Regions from separate parts of the Homo sapiens genome. Here region 2 is linked to region 1. Evidence: promoter capture Hi-C in 16 types of primary human blood cells and fetal thymus (Javierre and others, 2016). All regions are on one chromosome and are shown on one strand. The core of a region is centred on a gene start or on the middle of the fragment in contact, and the rest is flanking DNA. Distances in the headings are between cores, read along the strand shown. Region 1 holds the start of ATOX1-AS1 (ATOX1 antisense RNA 1). Region 2 overlaps SPARC (secreted protein acidic and cysteine rich).

Region 1 (7,145 bases), core at 3,816-6,315:
AACATATTTGAACTTGTCTTAAAACACTTATAAAAATATTGTTATACCATGAATTCACAGAATGGAAATTGTGGGGCAACAGATATTTGGCACATTTTGAATGTTTAATAGACATTGCAAAATCGCCCTCCTAAATGGCTATGCCAATTTACAGCTCCCCAGCAGCACATGGGAGGACCCAGAGTTTTACTCTGACAAAAGAGTGCAAAAAGAAAGGAAAACTCTTGATAGGTTCTAGGCCTGGCCTCACCATTGACTTGCTGGGTGACCATGGGCAGGGAGTCGGTGGGAGGAGGGTCCTGCTTCTCACAGGCCTCAGCTACCTCATCTGTACATGAAGGAGTCAGGGCTGGCCAGCTCCTGTGGCCTTTCCAGCTCAAGGATGCCATCAGTCTGTGATTCCTCAGCCCTACCACTGTTCTTTTAGGGCCATAAGCAACTCAAAAAACCCTCCTGACCCTTCTCAAGAGGCCACCCAAGCAGGGACAGTAGGAAAAGATGGGCAGAAACCTGCCGAAGCTTAAAGGCAGATCTTCCAGCAAGGGGCCTTAAAAATCATATGGTTGGCCAGGCGTGGTGGCTCATGTCTGTAATCCCAGCACTTTGGGAGGCTGAGGCGAGTGGATCACTTGAGGTCAGAAGTTCAAGACCAGCCTGGCTAACGTGGTGAAACCCCATCTCTACTAAAAATACAAAAATTAGCTCAGTGTGTGGCATGTGCCTGTAATCCCAGCTTCTCGGGAGGCTGGGGCAGGAGAATCACTTGAACCTGGGAGGCAGAGGTTGCAGTGAGCCAAGATCATGCCACTGCACTCCAGCCTGGGAGACAGAGTGAGACTCCCTCTCAAAACAAACAAACAAACAAACAAAACATATGGTTTCCCAGCCTGCATAACAAAGCAAGACCCTGTCTCTACAAAAAACAAAAACAAAAACAAAAAAATAGCCGGGTGTGGTCCTGTAGTCCCAGCTACTCAGGAGGCTGAGGTGGGAGGATGGCTTGAGCCTGGGAAGTTGAGGCTGCAGTGAGCCAAGACCGCGCCACTGCACTCCAGCCTGGATGAAGTTCCTGGGATGGGTAGATGTCTTTGAGCTGTCAAACGAAATTAGGCCCATCCCCACTTCATCCAGAGCCTGCTGCTTTGTATTTGAGGAGCTCCTGTACAGTTTCATTTTTAAAGCATCAACAGGCTGGGCACGGTGGCTCACGCCTGTAATCCCAGCACTTTGGGGGACCAAGGTGGGCAGGTCACCTAAGGTCAGGAGTTTGAGACCAGCCTGGCCAAGATAGAGAAACCCCGTCTCTACTAAAAATACAAAATTAGCCGGGCATGGTGGCCTGAGCCTGTAATCCCAGATACTCAGGAGGCTGAGGCAGGAGAATCGCTTGAACCTGGGAGGTGGAGGTTGCGGTGGGCTGAGATCACGCCATTGCACTCTAGCCTGGGCAACAAGAGCGAAATTCTGCCTCAGAAAAAAAAAAAAAATTAGCCAGGCGTGGTGGCGGGCACCTATAATCCCAGCTACTCGGGAGGCTGAGGCAGGAGAATCGCTTGAACCCGGGGCAGAGTGGAGCAGGTTGCAGTGAGCAGAGATCATGCCACTTCACTCCACTCTAGCCTGGGTGAAAGAGCAAACTCCATCTCCAAAAAAAAAAAAAAAGAAAAAGAAAAAAAAAAGCATCAACAGCAAAAGCTGATACAGACATACAAGATATACATTCCCATACCACAGCTGGGGAAACCCAGGCCCGAGAAAGAAGGGCCCACAGTCACATGACAAGTCAGCAGCTAGGTTCTTTCCACTGTTTCAGTTTCTTTCAGATTAAGATCCCAGTTTACAGGGCTAGAGGCCAGCCACTGACTTGCTGCGGGACTACGGGCAAGTCACTTAACCTCCTGGACACTGGCATCGACATCCCCATTCCAAAGATGGAAAGTACAGCTCAGAGGACTGCTAATGAGATCACGTCCATGTGGAAGCCATTTGAAAACTTAATGTCATTATTATTTAGGGTTTTAAAAAAGAAAATTTTAGAAGATTGTGTGATAGTTCATGTGGAAGAAAAAGAAAAGAAAAAATCTTAGAAGGCTGACTGAGCACTGGCATTGCCAAAACTCTGATCACAACTCAGTTATTACCTCACTGAGTCCCAGGACCAGATCCCAGTCCTCTCTGGGCCTCAGTTTCCCCAGCTGTAAAATGACAAGGCTGGATGAGACTGATTGTTCAAAAGAGGTGCTTTAAGAATATCTGCATGTGGCCAGGTGCGGTGGCTCATGCCTGTAACCCTAGCACTTTGGGAGACCAAAGCAGGCGGATTACTTGAGGTCAAGAGTTCAAGACCAGCCTGGCCAACATGGTGAAATCCATATCTATGAAAAGTACAAAAATTCACCGGAAATCGCCTGAACCCAGGAGGCAGAGGCTGCAATGAGCTGAGATCATGCCACTGCACTCCAGCCTGGGCAACAAACAGAGTGAGACTTCATCTCAAAAAAAAAAAAAAAAAAATCTGCATGTGAGTGATTCAAAATTAATTTAAATTTTTTTTTTTGAAGTAAAGAAACAGAAAAAGACAAAATTTTAAAAATTTTTACCTTTTTTTAAATCTTTCCTTTTTTTCTTTCTTTTTTTTTTTTTTTTTTTGGAGACAGGGTCTTGCTCTGTTGCCCCCACTGCAGTGCAGTGGCACGATCTAGGCTCACTGTGGCCTTAACCTCCCAGGCTCAAGCGATCTTCCCACCTCAGCCCCCTAAATTAGCTGTGAGTACAGGCATGTAACACCATGCCTGGCTAATTTTTTTGGTATTTTTTGTAGAGATGGCATTTTACCATGTTGCCCAGGCTGGTCTCGGGAACTCCTGAGCTCAGGCAATCTGCCCGCCTCAGCCTTCCGAAATGCTGGGATCACAGGTGTGAGCCACCGTGCCCAGCCCCATTTAAAAAACCTTAATAGAGGCTGCGTAGGGTGGCTCGCGCCTGTAATCCCAGCACTTTGGGAGGCCGAGGCGGGCAGATCACCTGAGGTCAGGGGTTCGAGACCAGCCTGACCAACATGGAGAAACCCCGTCTGTACTGAAAATACAAAATGAGCCAGGCGTGGTGGTGCATGCCTGTAATCCCAGCTACTTGGAAGGCTGAGGCAAGAGAATTGCTTGAACCTGGGAGGCGGAGGTTGCAACAAGCCGAGATTGCACCATTGCACTCCAGGCTGAGCAAGAAGAGCGAAACTCTGTCTCAAAAAAAAAAAAAAAAAAAAAAATTCAATAGAAAATGACACTCAGATGTGTCATGCAGTACACACTGGAGATGACCAACATATGAACTAGTACTGCCATGGCTCCAGAGCTACTCCTGGCAGTACTAGTTAATTTGGCTAAATCCCAGCTCTGCCATTTACTGACCATGTGATCCCAGATAAGTTATTTAATGTTTCTGAACTTCAGCTGTCTCCTGTTTAACATGGAGCTAGTAAAAAAAAAACTATCTGAAATGGCCGTGGTGAGGATTAAATGATGTGATTCACATAAGCCACTAAGAAAATAACAAGAGTAGTTGGCACGTGCTAAGTACTCAATATATTTTAGTTTTACTGTTATGATCAGCTTAACCCTAAGTCTCTCCTGCAACATCTGCATGCATCTGAACATGGCATAAGTGCACCCAACTCAGGGCCACTCACTCACCTCCAAGCTTATTGAGGACCCGAGAGACAGCTTCAGCACAGCCTCCACAGGTCATGTCCACAGAGAACTCGTGCTTCTGAAACAAACACAGGGGGACCATGACCCGAGCCCTGTAGAGTGACCCCCACACAGTGCCAGCAGACAGGCCCACTCAGGGTCAAGACAGAAGACAGAGAGACTGGGCAGGACCTGGTTGGCATCAGACTCATCAGAAGCCTGTTTCTGAGCCCGTCTCTTCAACTATAGAGTAGCTAAGAGTTTCTACCTCACAAGTTGTATTCAATGGAATCATCCCTATAAATCCTTTAGCAGTGTCTGGCACATAGTAAATAGAATCACCTGGAGATCTAGTTTAAAATGCTTTTTCCCAGTCCTACCTTCAAAACACTGATTCTTGAGCTATGAGCTTTGTCTCAGGGCCACCAGTAACTCTGACAGGGATGGGCCCCCATACTCTGAGCAATGCTGATCTGGTGGGCCCACTTATGAACCACAAAATTATTTTCTGCACTAGAGTCACCTACAGCTTGCAAAAACTACAGGTTCTGGTCAGCAGGTCTGGGCTGGGGAATCTGTTATGTCTACTCATTACCCCAGGTGATTCTGCTTTCATCCAAGGGCCGCATTCTCAGAGGCAGCATCTGGGTCCAGGGAAAGAAAGGATTGCCTGGGTTCCCCAGTGGGTTGGAGGCCAGGCAGGAAGGGATCCCCGGCTCCTAGTCTTCATGTAAGCTCTACATTCTACAGTCTCTAGGATATCTAACAGATCAAGGGTCTGAAGGTAAGCTCCCAGAAGACAGAGGTTTTGTTCAGTTCACTACTGGATTCCTAATACTTGGAACAGTGCCTGGACAGAGTAGGTGCTTAAAACTTATTTTTGAGTCAATGGATAATTGACATGGCTGGTTTGAACTTCTGGATCTTTTGCTTTGCTTTCACACAAGGATTACTTATACCAATACTTTATTTTAAAATCTCTGGAAATGAGACCATCTGAAATCAGATAAATATGGCTTCAGATACCAGCTCTGGCACTACTAGTTGCATGATCATCAATATGTTACTTCTCTGTGCCTTAGTTTCCACATCTGAAAATTGAGGGTAAGAGTCCCTCTCTAGATTTGTGAATGGGATGAACACAGGATTTTAAGTACGGTTAGCCAGCATCCAAGATGGCCTCAATGATCTCTGCCTCTGGTATTTATGCCCTTGAGTAATCCCATTCCACATGTCTCGGGTTGGTCTGTGTGTCTTATAGAATATGGCTTGAAGTGAGGTTATGTGGCTTCTGAAGCTATCACAATGTCATAAAGGACACTGTGACTTCTGTCTTGCTCCATTTCTGGGGTCACTTGCACTAGAGGAAGTCAGCTACTAAATTACAAAGAAATTCCAGCAACCACAAGGAGAGGTCCACAAAGTGAGAGATTGAACCCTCGAGCTAACAAGCATGTGAGTGAGACATGTTGGAAGTGGATTCTCCAGCTCCAGTCAAGCCTTCAGATGAATGCAGCTCCAGCCAACATCTCACTGCAGCTTTATGAGAGCCTCTGAGCTGGAGCCACTAGGCCAAGCTGTTCCCAAATTCCTGACTCTCAGAAACTGTGTGAGTTACTATAAATATATTTGTTGTTTTATACTACAAAGTTTTGGGATAATTACTAAGGAGCAATAGATAACTAACACATTAAGGAAATTAGAGCCTAGTACTAGGTTCCGTTGGGTAAAAGGTTAGCTATTGGATTATTAATTTCTTCCATTTGTCTCTCCTGTTTCCCTTCAAAAATCAATGGCTACATTTTTCATGGAGCACTTCAAAATATTTGAAGTCTATTACCTCAGTTGGAATCCTGGGTGTAGTGATATATCTTGCTAGAAAACCACAGGCAAAATCTCTGCTCCAGAAGGGCTCCAGTTCCCTAATCTATACCAAAAGGGTATTAGCTAACTCAATTTTTTTCAACTTTAGTGTGCATAGGAAGAATCTGGGGACCTTGTGGAAAGTGCAGCTCCCAGACACCTGCCTCAACTGACTCTGTGGATGTGGAGCGGGCCCTGCCACTCCCCATTTTTAACCTACTGGGGAGAGAACGGGAGGCAAAACTACAAACCTGAAAATAAAGTGGCTAAGTGGCTTCTCAAACTCTTTCCAAGTCTCTAAACACCGCTGAGTCTGGATTGTCACTGTGCTCTACAGAGGAAACGAAGACCAAGAATTAAGCAGCTCGATTTTCCAGTGCAGACTGTTTGACCTTTGTGACTAGTAAACCACTCCTTTTATTAAGGCCAAATCTGCAAAATCTGTCTTAAAGAAAATGGTCAGTCTTTCCTTTCTTCTAAACATCTCTGATTTTTTCATCTTGTTTCCTGACTATTCACAGACAGCAACAATAACAGATTCTGGAAAGAAGGATTTGTAGTAAGTATTACAAAATCTTGTCTTTAAAATGTGGTCCTCAGCCCAACAATATGAGCATCACCTGAGAGCCTGTCAGAAATGCAGAATCTCAGGTCCCTTCCCAGAAGTCCGGAATCAGAATCCTCATTTTAACAAGACACCCAAGTCATTCCTCCCCACATTACAGTCTGAGATGATGCTCTCCTCTATTAAAAAGTTTTTTTAGGCTGGGCAATGTGGCTCATGCCTATAATCTCAACACTTTGGGAGGCTGAGGCAGGTAGATCACCTGAGGTCACAAGTTTGAGACCAGTCTGGCCAACATGGCAAAACCTGTTTCTCTACTAAAAATAGAAAAAAAATTAGCCAGGCATGGTGGCAGGTGCCTGTAATCCCAGCTACTTAGGAGGCTGAGGCAGGAAAATCACTTAAACCCAGGAGTTTGAGACTAGCCTGGGCAATACAGTGAGATCATGGCTCCATTTAATTTAAAAGAAAAAAATTGTTTTGGAAAAAAAAATGATGATGCTCTGGAACATGGATTGGCACACTACAAACTACCTGTTTTACAAAGAGTTTTGTTAAAACATAGCCCAAATCGGGCCAGGTGTGGTGGCTCATGCCTGTAATCCCAGCATTTTTGGGAGGCTGAGGCGGGAGGATCACGAGGTCAAGAGATCGAGACCATTCTGGCCAACATGGTGAAACCCCATCTCTACTAAAAATACAAAAATTAGCTGGTAGTGGTGGCATGCGCCTGTAGTCCCAGCTACTCAAGAGGCTGAGGCAGGAGAATCGCTTGACCCAGGAGGCGGAGGTTGCAGTGAGCCAAGACCATGCCATTGCACTCCAGCCTGGCAAGAGAGCGAGACACCGTCCAAAAAAAAAAAAAAAAAAAAAGAAACACAAAAACAAAAAACTACAGCCAAACTCATTTGTTTACTTTTGCACTAGAATGGCAGAGTTGAGTAGTTGTACCAGAGACCCTATGGTTTGTGAAGACTAAAATGTTTACTATCGGTGCCGTGTAAAAAAAAAAGTTTGCTGAGTCTTGCTCT
Region 2 (7,011 bases), core at 4,500-6,999, 83 kb before region 1:
ACGCTTGAGGAAGGGAAAGAGAGAGGGACAGTTGGATGGACAGAGAAGGATCAGGAAGACGCCCAAGAGACAGGAGTCAAATAGGCAGAGAGAGCAGAGACAGGCAGAGAGGACAGACAACAGACAGACCAAGAGAGCGGAGAGTGGGGGGATGACAACCCAGCACCCTGGGAGCAGTGTTTCTGCCCATGCCCCTTGCTTCTTTGTTCAGACACTCACTCTGCTTGATGCCGAAGCAGCCGGCCCACTCATCCAGGGCGATGTACTTGTCATTGTCCAGGTCACAGGTCTCGAAAAAGCGGGTGGTGCAATGCTCCATGGGGATGAGGGGAGCACGCAGTGGAGCCAGCTCGGTGTGGGAGAGGTACCTGCAGGGAAGGAGGCAGGGGAGGGCCTGAGGCATGGAAAAGCTCCACACCCAGCCTTGGGAGGCAACCGGGGAGTTAGCCTGCCCCAGAGCATGGAGGAAAGGATATTTAAAGCAGGACAAAAAGCCAGAATCCCAGGTCTACCCCTAGCTCTGCCACTGACTGCTCTGAGACTCAGAGAACAGCAGTGCACCATTCGGAACCTCAGTTTCTCCTTCCAGCAAAGAGGAGGAGATGGCCATAATTACTAACGGCCCTTCCAGCTCTAAGGTTTCAGGGTCTCAAAAACAAAGGTCTGTTTGGTGTATTTGATTGTTTCCTAATTGGCTGAGAACTGGGGACACAGAAACTTAAAATCAAAATTCAGCACTTCTGCTATGGGTAGATCAAAATCTAGCATGACACAGCACTGTATATTGTCTATGGACACACATTTATACATCTATAAATGCCTAGTAAAGGGTCTAAAAATGACACACCAATCTGGTGACAGTGCTGCCTTCTGGGGAGGAATGTGGAAAGGGACTGGGATTGGCAGTGAGGGTCAACGGGAGCTCTAACCATCTTCATAGAGCTTTGCTTGTGTATCCTGTAATGTCTGAGAGGGAGGCCCTTTGGATGTCTCTCCCACTGTCCTCCCTCCCTATTCTCCCTGCTGGCCTTAGACTCCAGAGCATGTGTATAATTTTTTTCTTTGTTTCCCAGAGCCCCCAACTACTTGTCCCTAAAGATCCACAAAGGATCTCCAGGGAACAATGTGACTCCAGTTGTCTTCTTAACCTCTAGACCTCGCAGCCCCACCCAGCTCACCAAAGAAATCACACAATGTTTGAACTGATAGGAACATTCTCCTCCCCTTCATTGTACTGGTGGAAAACTGAGGCCCAGGGAGGGGCAGGGATGCAGGCAAGGTCACCTACAGCCCTGGGATGGGAGGAGGAGGAAGCGGGTCCCCTTGCCCAAGCTGGACCCCTTTCCCAGATGTGCTGTTCTTGCACCCCATCTGAAAGCCTCCCTCCAGGCCCTCTGTTGCAGTGGGATCAAATTGCTTTGCCTGAGCTCCAGATGTTCCCCTTTGACTTTTCCCCTCCCTGCCATAATGAGTGACTCAGTTGGATCCCAGCCATGGCAAAAGCCTGGGAGAGAAGTGGCCGGGAGATTCCCAGAGCCCAGGAGACCCCAGCCCTCAGGATCACTGGCAGGGTTGGCAGACTCCAGGCACACAGGCTGGACAAAGAGCGAGGGGTGAACATCCTAGAGAGGAAGTTCCCTGAGTATGTGAGTAGGGCAGCCCTTCCTTTCCCCTCTGTGTGATGCTCTGCTTCCACAACCCAAGGACGAAGAAAAAACCACTCTGGGAAGGTGCAGGTGTAGCTTGCTCCATCTGAGGCTGAGCAGGGGCTCTCACTTCATCACCACAAGAGAAGTTCAGAAGGTAGTGACAGGTTATGAACAGAGTATAAGTCCATGAGGGCAAGGACCATGCCAGCTCTGACTGCTGTTCAATCCCCTGCCTAGAATAGTGCAGGGCACAAAATGCACACTCCATAAGCATTTGCTAACTGGCCAGCTGCCTGCCTGTTCGGCAGTGCAGTTGCACAGGGCCTCATAACTCGTTTGGACAAGGGACAAGAGCCCTCAAACTGGGGGCTTGCAAAATAGACAGGCTTTTTTGGATAACTTCCAGGGTCAGTTGGGCCCTATTGGGGCTGAGCCTTAGGAGGGGGCTTAGACAGTGCCAGGTGGCTGCTCTGCCCCTGGATGTTCTGCTGAAGGACAGGGGGCGTGTGGCTGACCCAACCTTGTCCCCTGCCACCCCTTGGAGCCTGGTACTCCTTCTTAATTCACACTCCTTCATTATCCAGATATCCACGCCTAGTACTTGCAGGATTATGGAGCTATTTTGAGCTCCTACTGACTTTCACCTCAGCATGAGAGTGTCTTATCGGTTTCTTTGTCCCAGGTCCACATCTTTTCTCCAGATGCCTCATCCTTCTGCTCCAATCCCCAGGCAAACTGTGGATGCCAGGGCTTGGAGCAGTATAGGCTGCTGAGAGGCTTTCTGGCCATAGCTAGTGCACCTGCCAGCCTTGAGCTCTGTTCACTCTAGGGTCTGGGGTCTTACCCGTCAATGGGGTGCTGGTCCAGCTGGCCGAACTGCCAGTGTACAGGGAAGATGTACATGTTATAGTTCTTCTCGAAGTCCCGGGCCAGCAGCTCCACGGGGTGGTCTCCTGCCTCCAGGCGCTTCTCATTCTCATGGATCTTCTTCACCTGAGGGAGTAGAGACTGTGTGTGACAAGAGGTCCATGGAGATTGTCTGGACCAGTCGGGCCCTCCCACCCCTCCCAGAAGGCCAGAGCAGGCAGAGACTAGCCAGACCAAAGCTCACAGCGAGGGGAGGGAGGTGTCATAGATGGGTACTAGCATCTCATTCACAAAAATAGAAGCCTGGGATGACCTCAAAGAATTCTCCATATAGCTACCCACATCAAAATCACCTGGCGAAGGCCGGGCACACACTCACACCTGTAATCCCAGCGCTTTGGGAGGCTGAGGCAGGCAGATCACCTGAGGCCAGGAGTTTTGAGACCAGCCTGGCCAACACAGTGAAACTCCATCTCTACTAAAAATACAAAAATTAGCCAGGTGTGGTAGCATGCCTGCAGTCCCAGCTACTCAGGAGGCTGAGGCAGGGGAATCACTTGAACCCAGGAGGTGGAGGTTGCAGTGAACCGAGATCGCACCACTGCACTCCAGCCTGGCAACAGAGTGAGACTTTGCCTCAAAAAAATAAAATAAACATAAATCACCTGGGGAGTATTTAGAATGCAGCTTCCTGGGCCTTGCTTTCTAGAGACACTGTTTCAGTGGCCTGAGATGGGGCCAAGGAATCTGCATTTTATCAGCTTCTTGGGGTAGTTAATATGCTCATTAAAGCTTAAGATCCACAGACTCCAAAGGAAAAAGGAATAGGGCTGTTTGTGTCTCTTTTGTTTAACGTTAGGTTAAGCAAAGGGAGCAGGTCTCTGCTGCAGGACTTCTCAGAGCCTCTAAGATGTTAATGTGCACCACAGCCTCCAAAGGCAGGAAGAGAAGTACGTGTCCTGGTGCTCAGGGGTAAATGCACGCTCCGGAGCAGGATGCCGCCCTGCAGCTGGGGGCCCAGTTCTAGGAATGGGACTGGATCTTCACCAGCACGGGGCCAGCAAGGCCAGAGAGACCACTTACCCGCAGCTTCTGCTTCTCAGTCAGAAGGTTGTTGTCCTCATCCCTCTCATACAGGGTGACCAGGACGTTCTTGAGCCAGTCCCGCATGCGCAGGGGGAATTCGGTCAGCTCAGAGTCCAGGCAAGGGGGGATGTCTAGGTTCCAAACACAAGGGCGGTCAGCACAGACCCTGCCTGGGCCGTGCTCCCCACCCCAGGCCCCCACCCACCCACATACCACCTGCATTGGTGGCCTTGGCACAGTGGCTCAACCTCTCCAGGCCACAGTTTCTTCACAGGACAATGAGCAGAGGAGATTATGTGTGGGAAGAATGCCCTAGAAATGCATTGTGCAAAGGCATGGCTGCTGCTTTCCTCAGCCTAATCTGCTCTGCTCAGGGAAATGGATGGCTCCTGCACCTTACTGGGTGCTGGGCTTTGGGTGTGATCCTAGCTGAGACTGAGCCCATGTTGTTCACGTCAACCACTGGCAGGTGTTTGAAGCTGGGAGGCTGAGGGATCACATCTATCCACAGGCCCAGCTTGGCAGGGAGTGGGGAGTAGAGGACTCAGGAATGTGTAACCACCAGAACCTTCTTAGAAATGATTCCAACCTGGTCTTTGGAACTTAGAATCCCAAATGTTGGACCTGAAGATTTCATCCAAGTCCACACTTTTCTTTTCCTTTTCTTTTCTTTTTTCTTTTTTTCTTCTTTTTTTTTTTTTTAGACAGGGTCTCACTCTGTTGCCCAGGCTGGAGTGCAGTGGCACAATCACGGCTCACTGCAGCCTCAGCCTCCTGGACTCAACCAATCCTCCCTCCTCAGCCTCCTGAGTAGCTGGGACTACAGGCACATGCCACCATACCCAGCTAATTTTTGTATATTTTCCAGAGACAAGGTTTTGCCACGTTGCCCAGACTGGTCTCGAACTCCTGAGCTCAAGTGATCCTCCCTACTCGGCCTCCCAAAGTGCTGGGATTACAGGCGTGAGCCACCGCGCCTGACCCAGGTTCACACTTTGTACTGGACTTATTAGAGGTCAGCATGGAGAGAAGGGACTTGCTCAAGGCCACAATGTCAGAGCCTCATCCAGCATCCAGGGCAGTGTGGTCACCTGGGGGCTTAGGGGTCTGTTCTTCCCTCATCATTGAACCAGGGAAAGTCCCCTCTGTGAGGCTACCTTCATCATCAGCTGGGGTCTGGGAGAGAATATCTGGTGATAAAAACCTTAGGAGTTGAAGTGAGTGGGCAACATGCCTCAGGGAAAGCAAAGCCACTTCATAAAGACTCCTTAAGACAGGCTCTCTAGTCTTGCTGCCCAGGGACTTCCTACCCATGCTTCTTCCCCCAACCCTCCTTTTCTACTCTGTACCTTCTCAATTTCATACCTGGGGTCCCACGAGGAGAACTTTGTTTCCCACCCCCTACATACTTTTCTGCACCCTGTACACCTGAGGTAGGTGAGTGGCTCTCCTCATTGCCATCGGGTGCCAGAATACACAAGACCCACAGTGTGGATGTTGCCTTGGAGGGGGAGCAGGTGTGGTCTTGGGGGTCTCCCATGATAGGGAGGATACTGAACAAGGCACTTGGCCCCACTGAGTTTGCAGCTGGGGTCACTAACCAAAGATCAGACCACACCCTGGCATCCCTCCCCAGACAACTGACTCCCAGGTTTCCAGAAGAGGGTGCTTATCCTCTCTCTTCGGAGGGCAGATAGGAATGTAATGGAGTAAAAGGGTGAAGATATGACAGTACCAAGTAACAGGGCCCAAAGCAAACCGACAGGCATGCCCTTATTTTAAAGCATTCAAAATCAGATATTTTCAAAATATTTTGTAGGCCCAGGTCAAACATCATTTTTGCTTTACAGTGTTGAAGCAAGAAAGATTCAACTTAGCCTGAGAGAAGAAATTCTTCCTCATTAGAGAAATGAAATGCAGTTGTCTCAGATGCTAGTGAGAGACTCCAGAAATCTTCCCTGATGTTGACCTTCCATAATCGCTCAGTCCTTCCCCAGAAAGTGCCCTGAACTCAGAGTTGAGAGGAGCCAACTCATAGACAATTACCTCATTTTATAAATGGGGATGCCGAGACTCAGAAAGGGAGAGAGATTTGCCCAAGATCACCCAGCATGGGGGTGGCAGAGACAGCATCAGTGCCAGCTCAGAGCTCTCTCCCCAAGACAGGAGTCTGGAAGGGCCCAAGGACACTCACATTTGCAAGGCCCGATGTAGTCCAGGTGGAGCTTGTGGCCCTTCTTGGTGCCCTCCAGGGTGCACTTTGTGGCAAAGAAGTGGCAGGAAGAGTCGAAGGTCTTGTTGTCATTGCTGCACACCTGTTGGCAAAGCACAGAGTACCCCCTCCTTCATTCCCAAAGCCCTTCGCTGATACCAATATCCTTGTCCATTTCAGAGATGGGGACACTGAGGGTTAAGCAAGGAATGTCATTAGCCTGAGGTCATATAGTGAGTTAGTGATAGGGCTGGGCCACAAATCCACTTTTTGGGTTCCCAGGTCAATGCTCAGCCCAGGCTGAGAGCCATCGATGGTCTCTGAGCAGAGGCATGACTGAGTCAGTTCTGAGATATAGGGAAAAAAATCCTGGAAGATATTTGAAGAGAAAGTTAAAGACAGGAATGGGAGAGAAACAAGAGTGTTCAAAGAAGAGTTAACATAGCAGGCCTGGAATTGTTATCCTTAGAAAAGGCCTGCTTGTAAGGTCAGCCTGTGGCTGGTGTCTGGGAACTTAGCTGGGAAACAGTTCTCTGCACTGTTGTAAATCTTTCCCTAACTGATAAGAGTGGCTCGCTATGCCTGGACTGTTTGTACAAACAATCTGGTTTATGCTGAACATCTGCTTTCCTTCTGGAAGTGTGAAATTCTGGTGCATGCTAGGCAAAGGGTACCTATGTGACCAGCCTCCAATTAAAACTTTGGGTGCTGAGTCTCTAATGAACTTCCCTGGAAAGAAACATCACTCACATGTGGCTGCCTCTTTGTAGCTGGGGTAAGAATGCACTCTGATGACCCCTCTTGGGAGTCAGTCAGTCTCCACCCAGATTCCTCCAGACTCTGCTAGTGTCTTTTTCCCTTACGATCCAGCTGTATATCCTGAATATGTCGCTGTACTAAACCTTAGGTGTGAGTACAACTGTATGCTGAGCCAATGGAGTCCTAGTCGATCTCTGAACATAGGGGTGGCCAAGCAGAGATGTTGAGGGCTGGACATGCAGTGGCCGTAAGTAGCTGTGTTAGGAGGAGGGGAGCCTGTGTTGAACATCCTGTCCGTACTTATTTAGTATAGCTTATATGTCACTGCAGAGGGAGAACTGATGGGCACTGGTGACTGGGCACTGGGAGTGGGGAGGGGTGAGGAGGAGGAAAATGTTAACAATGATATTAAAATGTGGAGCCCAGAGGCTATGTAGT

Evidence for each region. Contacts are between HindIII fragments. The CHiCAGO score rates a contact against its expected background, and 5 or more counts as called.
Region 2: a fragment that was not itself captured here is called in contact with the fragment with the promoter of ATOX1-AS1 in region 1 in 4 of 17 cell types (M1 macrophages, M0 macrophages, M2 macrophages and 1 more); the score reaches 8.3 in M1 macrophages.

Annotation. Positions count from the first base shown.
Region 1 is chr5:151,748,015-151,755,159 of GRCh38, forward strand. It overlaps ATOX1-AS1 (ATOX1 antisense RNA 1), which reads left to right and starts at 5,066. Exons shown (of 4, transcript XR_007059008.1): 1 at 5,066-5,295; 2 at 5,659-6,108. ATOX1 (antioxidant 1 copper chaperone) reads right to left here. Exons shown (of 4, transcript NM_004045.4): 2 at 3,690-3,765. RefSeq lists an enhancer at 1,656-1,905. The HindIII fragment of the contact is 3,507 bases long and covers 3,695-7,145 here.
Region 2 is chr5:151,663,868-151,670,878 of GRCh38, forward strand. SPARC (secreted protein acidic and cysteine rich) reads right to left here. Exons shown (of 10, transcript NM_003118.4): 6 at 5,797-5,917; 7 at 3,600-3,733; 8 at 2,494-2,642; 9 at 220-368. Among named protein-coding and RNA genes, the nearest start is that of CLMAT3, 9.6 kb to the right of the region's middle. RefSeq lists an enhancer at 1-569. The HindIII fragment of the contact is 4,886 bases long and covers 3,307-7,011 here.